2 separate regions of the Homo sapiens genome follow, and region 1 is linked to region 2. The links are contacts of gene promoters, found by promoter capture Hi-C in blood cells and fetal thymus (Javierre and others, 2016). All regions are on one chromosome and are shown on one strand. The core of a region is centred on a gene start or on the middle of the fragment in contact, and the rest is flanking DNA. Distances in the headings are between cores, read along the strand shown.

Evidence for each region. Contacts are between HindIII fragments. The CHiCAGO score rates a contact against its expected background, and 5 or more counts as called.
Region 1: a contact is called between a fragment that was not itself captured here and the fragment with the promoter of GLOD4 in region 2, in 1 of 17 cell types (megakaryocytes). The highest score is 5.4, in megakaryocytes.

Annotation. Positions count from the first base shown.
Region 1 is chr17:1,073,949-1,078,497 of GRCh38, reverse strand. All of the region lies in intron 6 of ABR (ABR activator of RhoGEF and GTPase), which reads left to right. Among named protein-coding and RNA genes, the nearest start is that of MIR3183, 54 kb to the right of the region's middle. The HindIII fragment of the contact is 630 bases long and covers 2,210-2,839 here.
Region 2 is chr17:779,863-785,012 of GRCh38, reverse strand. GLOD4 (glyoxalase domain containing 4) reads left to right here and starts at 2,733. Exons shown (of 9, transcript NM_016080.4): 1 at 2,733-2,847. The coding sequence starts at 2,758. It overlaps MRM3 (mitochondrial rRNA methyltransferase 3), which reads right to left and starts at 2,660. Exons shown (of 4, transcript NM_018146.4): 1 at 2,321-2,660; 2 at 1,686-1,930. The coding sequence starts at 2,634. RefSeq lists enhancers at 2,133-2,681, 2,353-2,702, 3,703-3,802. The HindIII fragment of the contact is 3,821 bases long and covers 2,348-5,150 here.

The sequences.
Region 1 (4,549 bases), core at 1,275-3,774, 290 kb before region 2:
TGTGCCCGCAGACGTAGTAGCCCTGAGGCCAGGGAGAGGGTCTGCGGGGGCCAGGCACAGCGTGGCGATGGGTGGCGATGGTCCGGACGGCGGCGTTGCCAGCCGAGAGGGTGCCAGCGCGAGCCAGAGGGAGAAGTTGGGAGTTTCTTTGTTTCTGGAGAGAGGCGCGGAGGCTGGGCGGCACGGTATTGTGTGCTCCGCGCACATGCAGCAGTAGGCGGAGGACACGGAGGGGCTGTGGGAGCAGGAAGGAGAGGTTTGTTTCCAGCCGTGAGAGACCCCCAGCCGAGGTCTGGGCCCTCAACTGTGGAAGGCAGGTCGGCAGGGCCAGCGGGAGAGGGGTGTGGCAAGCTACTCTGTGAAGGTCACACACACACACACACACACACACACCACCTTTCGGTGGAAGGGACCCGGACCATCCTCCTTGCAGCTCCCGCAGCTGGCTGGGGGCTGGGGGGAAGTCCCGGGACAGGTGCATGTCATCAACACGACTGTCGGTCGTAGGAGGATGAAGCCGGCCCAGGTAGGGAGGTGTCCAGAAGCCCGTGGACCCTGCCTCAAGAGGCAAGACGTGCCAAGGGGTGCCCTGCCTGCCTGTGGCAGGGAGTGGGGTGGGCACGTGTGGCTCCCAGGCCGGCTGCTCTGGGCCTGAGTCTGTGGGAGCAGCAGGCGGCTGGTTTTAGGACCTTCCTCTTCCTTCCCACCAGGTGTTTCGGCTCTGCACCCTTCTCAGTCACTTTGCTTTCCTATCTCCCTGGTAACCTGGAGCTCCTTGGAGCTCCTTGTCGAAGGCTGACTTGAGGGGGATGGTGGCTTGCCGGAAGAGAGATGGCAGGTTTCCTGGGCTCCTTCCCAGGGGCGGCTGTGCTGGAGGGGCTGTGTGGGGCCAGTGCCCCCTGACCTTCTCAGGACCCTCTTGATGGAAGCAAGCTCTGAGGCAGCCTCTCTCCTGCGGCCCAGCAGGGCGGCTGCAGGAACCCTGTTCTCACTTGAAATTGGCCTGGTCAGCGATCAGAGGAGAAATGGTCTTTTTGGTCTGGCCTAGGAGTTGGTCAGGTCTTGACTCTGCCTCCCTGAAAAGGAAACGTACCCTTGGCTTCCTCTCCCTTCCCCAAAAGGAAGCTTCGACTCAGTGAAACGGACCTGGGACCTGGAGTTCACGTTGCTTCGGTCTCCGTGATACTGTTGTTGAAGTCGGCTTCAAAGTGGGGAATGAGGAGTGAAAGGGCCAGCTCGTGAGGAGGGGGCTCACCCCATCCTGGTCACTCTTTCCAAGAACGCTCCTGTGGTTCATTGAGGTTTTACAGGTGCTGCCTTTCCCTGAAGAAGGTGCAGCTCAAAGCAAGGAGTGCGGGTGGATCTACCCAGCTCCCACCACTTGTAGCCACAAGTCTCTGGCCTCAGTTGCCTTGTCTGTAAAATGGGGCTAGTGAGAATTGCTTCCCGTTTTAATCACAGGAAATAATGAGAGCAAAGCAGTTAACTCAGTACCCTTGGGCACAGAGCGAGTACCCAGCAAACTAGAGAGAGACCAGCTTGCTGCCCAAGTCAGTGTCAGTGGAGAGGGAGAGTGGGTGAGGCCGGGCAGGAAGCAGGCCAGCCTGCAGGAGCCCAGGGACAGGGGAAGGGCCAGAGCGAGTGCCTCACCCTGAGTTCTCAGGGGACCCCAGCGTGCAGGGGCCGTGGGGAGCACAAACTTCAGGGCCGCTCTTATTCCCCCGGTTCCCTCCGTATCTGATGTGGTCCCAGTGCCGCCACCCCCCCCACCCCCACCCCCCCCGTGCACCTGCCCTCCTGGCCGCCCTTCCAGGGCTCATTCCACAGCCTTACTCAGGTGGACTCTGGAGGTGACCACAGACATGTTAATAACCCCTCTGAAACCCAACCTGCCATGTGTTCAGACCTCTGAGCTTAGTCAGAAACCTCTTCCTCTTGGGACCCAAGAGAGGGCTGCGGGGAGCCGATAATGCAGTGTCAGCTTTCTGTGGAGCCGCCACTCCGGAGCCCACCCTGGCAGGTGTCTGCTGAGCTTGTGCTTTCTTTTGGGTCTCTGGGGTTCTCCAGTGTGATTTTTTCCCCCTGAAGATGGGCTGAGCCACAGGTGGGTGCCTTAAACAGCCTCAGAAATGGATCCCACCTGAGCTAGGACCTGGGCTGCACCCTCAGTGCCGAGGATACCCCAAGACTGGCCTCATTCCTTCAAGCTTCCATGGCCCATGGGGAGGGTCTCTGGAAACTGCTAGATAAGAAAGGGCTACAGATATGTCATATGAAGTGTATTTACGTAAACCAGTGGTTGGCCGGGTACTCATGCCTGTAATCCCAACTTTTGGCAGACTGAGGCAGGAGGATTGCTTGAGGCCAGGAGTTCGAGACCAGCTTGTATTTGGCTTGAGGCCAGGAGTTCGAGACCAGCAACATAGTGAGACCTTGTCTCTATATTTATTTTTATTTAAACGAAGACTCACTGTGTCGCCCAGGCTGGAGTGCAATGGCGCAATCTCAGCTCACTGCAACCTCTGCCTCCTGGATTCAAGAGATTCCCCTGCCTCAGCCTCCCAAGTAGTTGGGATTATAGGCGCCTGCCACCACACCTGGCTAATTTTTGTATTTTTAGTAGAGATGGGGTTTCACCATGTTGGCCAGGCTGTTCTTGAACTCCTGACCTCAAATGATCCACCCGCTTCGGCCTCCCAAAGTGCTGGGATTACAGGCGTGAGCCACCCTGCCCGGCCCCTCGTCTCTATATTTTTAAAAAAATTAAAATAAATACATAAATAAAACATAAAGCAGTGGTTTTCAACCATTATTATACATTCAAATCAGTAAAGAAGCTTTATAGAAATGCTGATGGCCCTTGTGGTCTTGCAGAGATTTGGGTTGAGTTGACGGGGCTGGGGAGCAGCATCTGTATCTTTTAACCGCTCCCCCAGTGATTCCGACAGGCAGCCAAGCTCGGACTGCGGGTAAGGCTGGTGGCCCTGCTGAGGCTGCATTTTCTTCACAGCCAGCAGATTGCTCCCTGAAGTGTCTGCTTAGCCGCGCACGGGGTATTTATATCTCAGGCTTTGGAGAACTATCAGGTTTGGGGCCCGGCTAGGGCGTGCGTGTTCACGCTGGGACCTGTCACAACCTGGTCTTATGGGACACCCAGTCTGGGATCCTTCTTCCCAGATGACCAACCTGCCTCTGTCACTGCCCCTGCGGCAGGAGGCCCAAGGTCATGACCCCAGGGACAGAGCATCCAGGTGCAGGACTGAAGCTGAGCCTCCTGTTGGGAGGGTGGGCGCAGCCGCGTACAGGAAGGGTGTTGGGAAGTGTTGATCCACCAGCTGCCACCTCCACCTGTCCCTGCTGAATCCCAGCCATCCTCACTTGGTGTCCGGGTTGTGGAGGGTGTGGCTCTTGGGGGCCTGGGCTGGCCTTGCCTGCGTCCTCCCAGCCTCTTTGGGGCTCTCATATGTGAGGCCTAACCTGAGTTGCTTCAGGAAACCTTTGCCCCTCAGGCTGCCACGTGTTTGAGAGCACAGCCTTTTTTCTTTTTTTTTGAGATGGAGTTTTGCTCTTGTTACCCAGGCTGGAGTGCAGTGGCATGATCTTGGCTCGCTACAACTTCCGCCTCCCGGGTTCAAGTGATTTCCCTGCCTCAGCCTCCCAAATAGCTGGGATTACAGGCATGTGCCACCACGCCTGGCTAATTTTTGTATTTTTAATAGAGATGGGGTTTCACTGGTTGGCCAGGCTGGCCTCGGGGAGCAGAGCCTTTCTGTGGAGATCAGGCCAGCCTCCTGGCCTCCAGCCTCCCTGCCTCCAGCCTTCCTGTGCTTTGCTATCTGGGGTTTGAGGATGTGGGGAGGGGTCTTTCCTCTGAGAGATGAGGCCAGTCCTGTGGATCACAGTGAGGCATGCCAATCCCAGCTGGCTGTGCCTGGCCTTCAGCTCCAGGAGCCTGAGAATGATAAGGTCTGGAGAGCTGCCCTTCCTGGAAACACAGCATGTCTCCTTCCCCCATTCTGGGGTCCTGCATGTGGCAGGTGTGCTAGACTCTGCAGGGCATGGCTGGGTGGAGCTGTGTGATTCTGGGGTTCTGCGTGTGGCAGGTATGCTGGACTCTGCGGGGCGTGGCTGGGTGGAGCTGTGTGATTCTGGGGTCCTGCATGTGGCAGGTGTGCTAGACTCTGCAGGGCATGGCTGGGTGGAGCTGTGTGATTCTGGGGTTCTGCGTGTGGCAGGTGTGCTGGACTCTACGGGGCGTGGCTGGGTGGAGCTGTGTGATTCTGGGGTCCTGCGTGTGGCAGGTGTGCTAGACTCTGCGGGGCGTGGCTGGGTGGAGCTGTGTGATTCTGGGGTCCTGCGTGTGGCAGGTGTGCTGGACTCTTCGGGGCGTGGCTGGGTGGAGCTGTGTGATTCTGGGGTCCTGCGTGTGGCAGGTGTGCTGGACTCTTCGGGGCGTGGCTGGGTGGAGCTGTGTGATTCAGGGCTGGGGGTCCAGGAGAGCATCTGCCTTGAGCCAGGTGAGGCCAGGACAGGCCTGGGGAGGGGGGCG
Region 2 (5,150 bases), core at 1,484-3,983:
AGGAGATGAATGAAATAGTACTTGTACTGAAACATGATACAATCAAAGATTTAGGATTCTTTCTAAAAGATGGTGCAGGTAAAAAGCCTATCCACCACTGAAGGCAATGGAAGGGTATTAGGCGTCTGTGTGCTGTGAGAGAGCCTCCACTTCGGAGTCACAGATGGCCAAAAGCCATTCAGTAGGGCTGAGGACCTTAGAAGTCCTTTACTTCTACTTGGATGTCTGTGGTGATGAGAACCCACTATACGGAGGCCCTACTTATGTCGCTGGATTCTGGGGAGTGTCTGTCTAAAGCCTGACAGGTGCTGCCAGTTCCTATCCATTTCTCCCTTATTCCCTGCCCTCAAATCTAAAATATAGTAACATAAGGATAAGCCAGGAAATGATGAAAGCAGGTATGATGATGAAGTTCAAGATGGGTTGGCCACTGTAAGCACACCTGCCCCAAGTGACAAGCACAAGTTCAAGATGGGCTGGCCACTGTGAGCACACCTGCCCCAAGTGACAAGCACAAGTTCAAGATGGGCTGGCCACTGTGAGCACACCTGCCCCAAGTGACAAGCACGGTAAAAATGAATAACACTTTCACTGAAGCATGGCGTGTGGATTAGAGGGCTGTAGCTAGTGAGAATATGGTTACTTAGCATGAGTAATTCTAGGTACTTTAGTAATCCAAGTCCCCATCCTAGGATCTAAGAGCTCTGAGTGCAGAGGCACAGATCCCTGTGACTCACTGGGTTACAGAGACAAGAGATGGTTCCCCAGAATCTCCTCTCTCAGCAGTTCAAGGATTCAGTTTTCATATCTTAAAACTCCCATGTCAAAAACGTATGAAAAACTTATCTTCTCATATTTAGACCAAAGACTTTGTAACTGCTAATCAACATCGGAGTTACATAAGGTTAAGTCAGATTCAGCCAAATGAAGGAACAGACTAGAAGACAAGGTTCTCTGTTTATTGGGCTAAACGGGGCAGTAAATTGTGGCTTGTACCTCGCTTCTTAGATCTGCTTCTGGAATAAGCAGTTTATTGACAGTTATCACCACATTGGCAGAGGTTTTGCAAAAATGAAGGGCTCAATCTTTCAGTAAACGCTTTCTTAATTTTTAATCTGACATAGAAAGTTGAAGAAGTAATCTAAAAAATAGAAGGTTTGAGGAATAGTGGTTCTTCCTAGAGACCATAAAGAGCCACAACACAAATGATAGTGAAAAACGGGTTTCAATTTCCATTGAAAATACTCTAAGATACACAGGTTTGAGAATTATATTTTTCTAATTGTAACATTTTGAATTTCATTTCAATGCTGCTGTCCTAAGACAAGTATGAGAAATTAATCCTAGGTCTCCACACCTTAAGATACACTGTGTAAGGCCAGGCATGGTGGCTCACGCCTGTAATCCCAGCACTTTGGGAGGCCGAGGCAGGAGGATCACCTGAGGTCACAAGTTCGACGTCAGCCTGGCCAACATGGTGAAACCCCACCTCTACTAAAAATACAAAAATCACCCGGGCATGGTGGCAGACGCCTGTAATCCCAGCTACTGCGGAGGCTGAGGCAAGAGAATCCCTTGAACCCGAGAGGCGGAGGTTGCAGTGGGCCGAGATCGCGCCATTGCACTCCAGCCTGGGTGACAGAACAAGACAAAAAAAAAAAAAGATACACTGGGTAATCACTAACCCATTATTCCTTGTGGCGTTACGAGGTCGGACCAATCCTTGATATCCTCAAATTTCACCTTAATGAGGCTGACACCTTTCAGCTTATCGACTGGCAACTCCTTTAGGTATTCTAGACGGCTAAAGAAGAACATTTTTGGCACAGCTCCAGCCTTGAGAGCGTCTGAAATGAGCCTGCGACCTTCCAGCAGGATCTTCCCTTGTTTTTCCCGAAATGGCCTGGACTTTACTATTGTCATTACACTGCTGTAGATGGAAATAAAAAAAAAAAACAGGTAACTATCAACATCCTTGTTACTGAGACACGCTTAGTTGTAACAGAAATAAAGAGCTACGGAGAGGGCCGGGCGCGGTGGCTCACGCCTGTAATCCCAGCACATTGGGAGGCCGAGGCGGGCGGATCACCTGAGGTCAGGAGTTCCAGATCAGCCTGGCTAACATGGTGAAACAAAAACAACAACAAAGAGCTAAGGAGAAACAGAAGCTAATTCCAAAGACGCTTATTCGGCCCTCTGTGCATAATACAAAAACCAGCGGGCTGTACTGGAAGAAGTCCTCCATCGGAAGGAGGTTAAGGTTCCGCTGTGCGACGGGAAGGGAAACGAGAACATTCGACAGGCTCAAGAACCACATCACCTCAGCCTCCTGTCCCCGGGATAAGCTTTATCGTAGCGAAGCCCAGACTCTTCCCAGGTGCTGGGAGCGCGGGATGCGGACTCCTCGAGCGGTTGTTTCTCTCGTTGCTCCTGGGCACTGGCCTCAGATGGTGCCTTGCGGGGCTGCTTCCCAGGAGCGCGCTTCTGTTCCACCACCTCTCCGGAAGGAAACACCACTTTCACTGGGCTCCGCCGCAGCGCCCGGACCCAGCGCCTCGCGTCAAGGTCCCAAGCCTGGACCACCTGCAGCAACGGTCGCACGACAAACCTCGCGGGTCTCACCAGCGCCGCCATGTTCCCTGAGACCCGGGCTGCGTCACGAAAGCGCGCCGTCGGCGGCTAGTGACGTCACGGCCCGTGGCGCCCTTCGTGGACTGGGCTGTACGGTGCGCGTGACGGCTGCGTGCGGCGGGAATCATGGCTGCTCGCAGAGCTCTGCACTTCGTATTCAAAGTGGGAAACCGCTTCCAGACGGCGCGTTTCTATCGGGACGTCCTGGGGATGAAGGTGCAGGCCGGGGCCGACAGGGGCTGGCGCGCGAGGCTGGAACCGGCGCCCGAGCCGGCCCTGGCGGAGGGAGGGGAAAATGGGTGTGTCGTGAACCTAAGCCGGAGGGTGTCCGACCTTAGGCCCTGCGCGGTGTTCAGCTTCAGGAGCGTGGCGAGTTGCCGTTGGGGATCATAGGCCTTGGAGAAGGGCCTAACACGATTAGTCCCCGCGGTGTGCCCACGCACGTCCTTTCATTTAAGCCACTCGTAAACGTTTATTGAGCCCCGCCCTTGTGGAGCTTACCGTCTACCGGAAAAGACGGTAAATAAAATGTTATATAATGCTTTCTAGTTAATATTTGTGTTTTCCGGTTTGGAGCCTTTGATGTAGATAAAATCAGCGTATTCAGAGTTCTGCTTCTAGCAAGGCTGGTCTGAATAGTCCGTTTCGGATACTCAGTCTCTGAATATATGCTCCAACTCTCAACCCATCTGCTTTTCAACAGCACCCAGAAGCGGTCTGTCTCGGGTCCTGAGGAGCTGTTATTTGCAGGATTCAGTTGGTTGGGGAACTGGGTTTTGGGGACCTCCTTTGATAAGCCAGGGAGGTAGGGAACACACCACTAAGGAAGACTTGAAAGGTGCAAGAGCGCGGTTTAGTGTATAGACGGTGCAATAGACGGGGATCTGAATTCGTCAGGTCATTTTTAAAATATCTGCTATTTTCAGGGTACTACGTTGAGTTTTGGCAACAAAGGTGCAAATGACCCTGATATATATCCTCCATTAGAGCTCATGGCCTGGGTTGGGGTGGGAGTTGGAACTGGATTTGTACGTAGATGATGGTAATGGAAGTCAGAATTTGATAGTGAAAAACCACCAAACTTTCGATAGCAGAAACCACAGAGCTGTCCCTTGTTAGTATTTCCTCGTCGATCAAAAGGTTGTTGCAAAGATTAAACACGTGCCGGCGCGGTGGCCCACGCCTGTAATCTCAGCACTTTGGGAGGCCAAGGCGGGTGGATCACTGGAGGTCAGGAGTTGGACACCAGCCTGGCCAACATGGTGAAACCCTGTCTCTACTAAAAATACAAAAATTAGCCGGGCATGGTGGCACACGCCTGTAATCCCAGCTACTCGGGAGGCTGAGGCAAGAGAATCGCCTGTATCTGGGAGGCGGAGGTTGCAGTGAGCCGAGATCGCACCATTGTGTTCCAGCCTGGATGACGAAAGCAAAACTCCGTCTCAAAAAAAAAAAAAAAAAAAAGATTCAACACCTTATTATATGTATAGTATTTAACATATCGGTAATAGTAGATTATATAAGTGTTAGCCACTATTATAAAAATACAAAAGAAGGAGCGGTTTTCCAACCTGGGTGATGAGGAAATAATTCATGTAGACCTTGTATTCGAGTTGACTTTTTTTTTTTTTTTTTTTTTTGAGGTGGAGTCTTGCTCTGTCGCCAGGCTGGAGTGCAGTGGCGCGATCTCGGCTCACTGTAAGCTCAGCCTCCCGGGTTCACACCATTCTCCTGCCTCAGCCTCCCGAGTAGCTGGGACCACAGGCGCGTACCACAACACCCGGCTAATTTTTAAAAATATTTTTAGTAGAGACGGGGTTTCACCGTGTTAGCCAGGATTCGAGTTGACGTCTAAAGATAGGATATCCACAGGTAGATGAGAGGAGGAGCTACATAGTAAAACTGAAGAGCCAGTGCGGAGATGGCACATGTTTGCGAAGCCGCTGGTTTTATGTGCCTTTAGTTGAGGTTGCTTAGTTGAAGTTAAGGAGATGGGATATCAGGATGGACAGGTCGGCATTGCTTCTAATAGTATCTTGAATGCTATGCTAAAGAATTTGGATTTTATGCTGCAGTAAGATGGGAGCTCACTTATGTTCTTAAACAGGGTGGTGATGGGATCAGTGCTTTGTGCTTTAGGCATGTGCTTTTTTGGTGTTATTAAGGAAGGATATCAATAAGGATTTTTTTATTTTTTATTTTTTATTTTTTTTATGTTGAGACGGAGTCTCGCTCTTTCGCCCAGGCTGGAGTGCAGTGGCGCAATCTCGGCTCACTGCAAGCTCCGCCTCCTGGGTTCACACCATTCTCCTGCCTCAGCCTCCCGAGTAGCTGGTACTACAGGCGCCCGCCACCACGCCCTGCTTATTTTTTGTATTTTTAGTAGAGATGGGGTTTTACTGTGTTAGCCAGGATGGTCTCGATCTCCTGACCTCATGATCCACCCACCTCGGCCTCCCAAAGTGCTGGGATTACAGGCGTGAGCCACCGCGCCCGGCCAATAAGGATGATTTTTAATA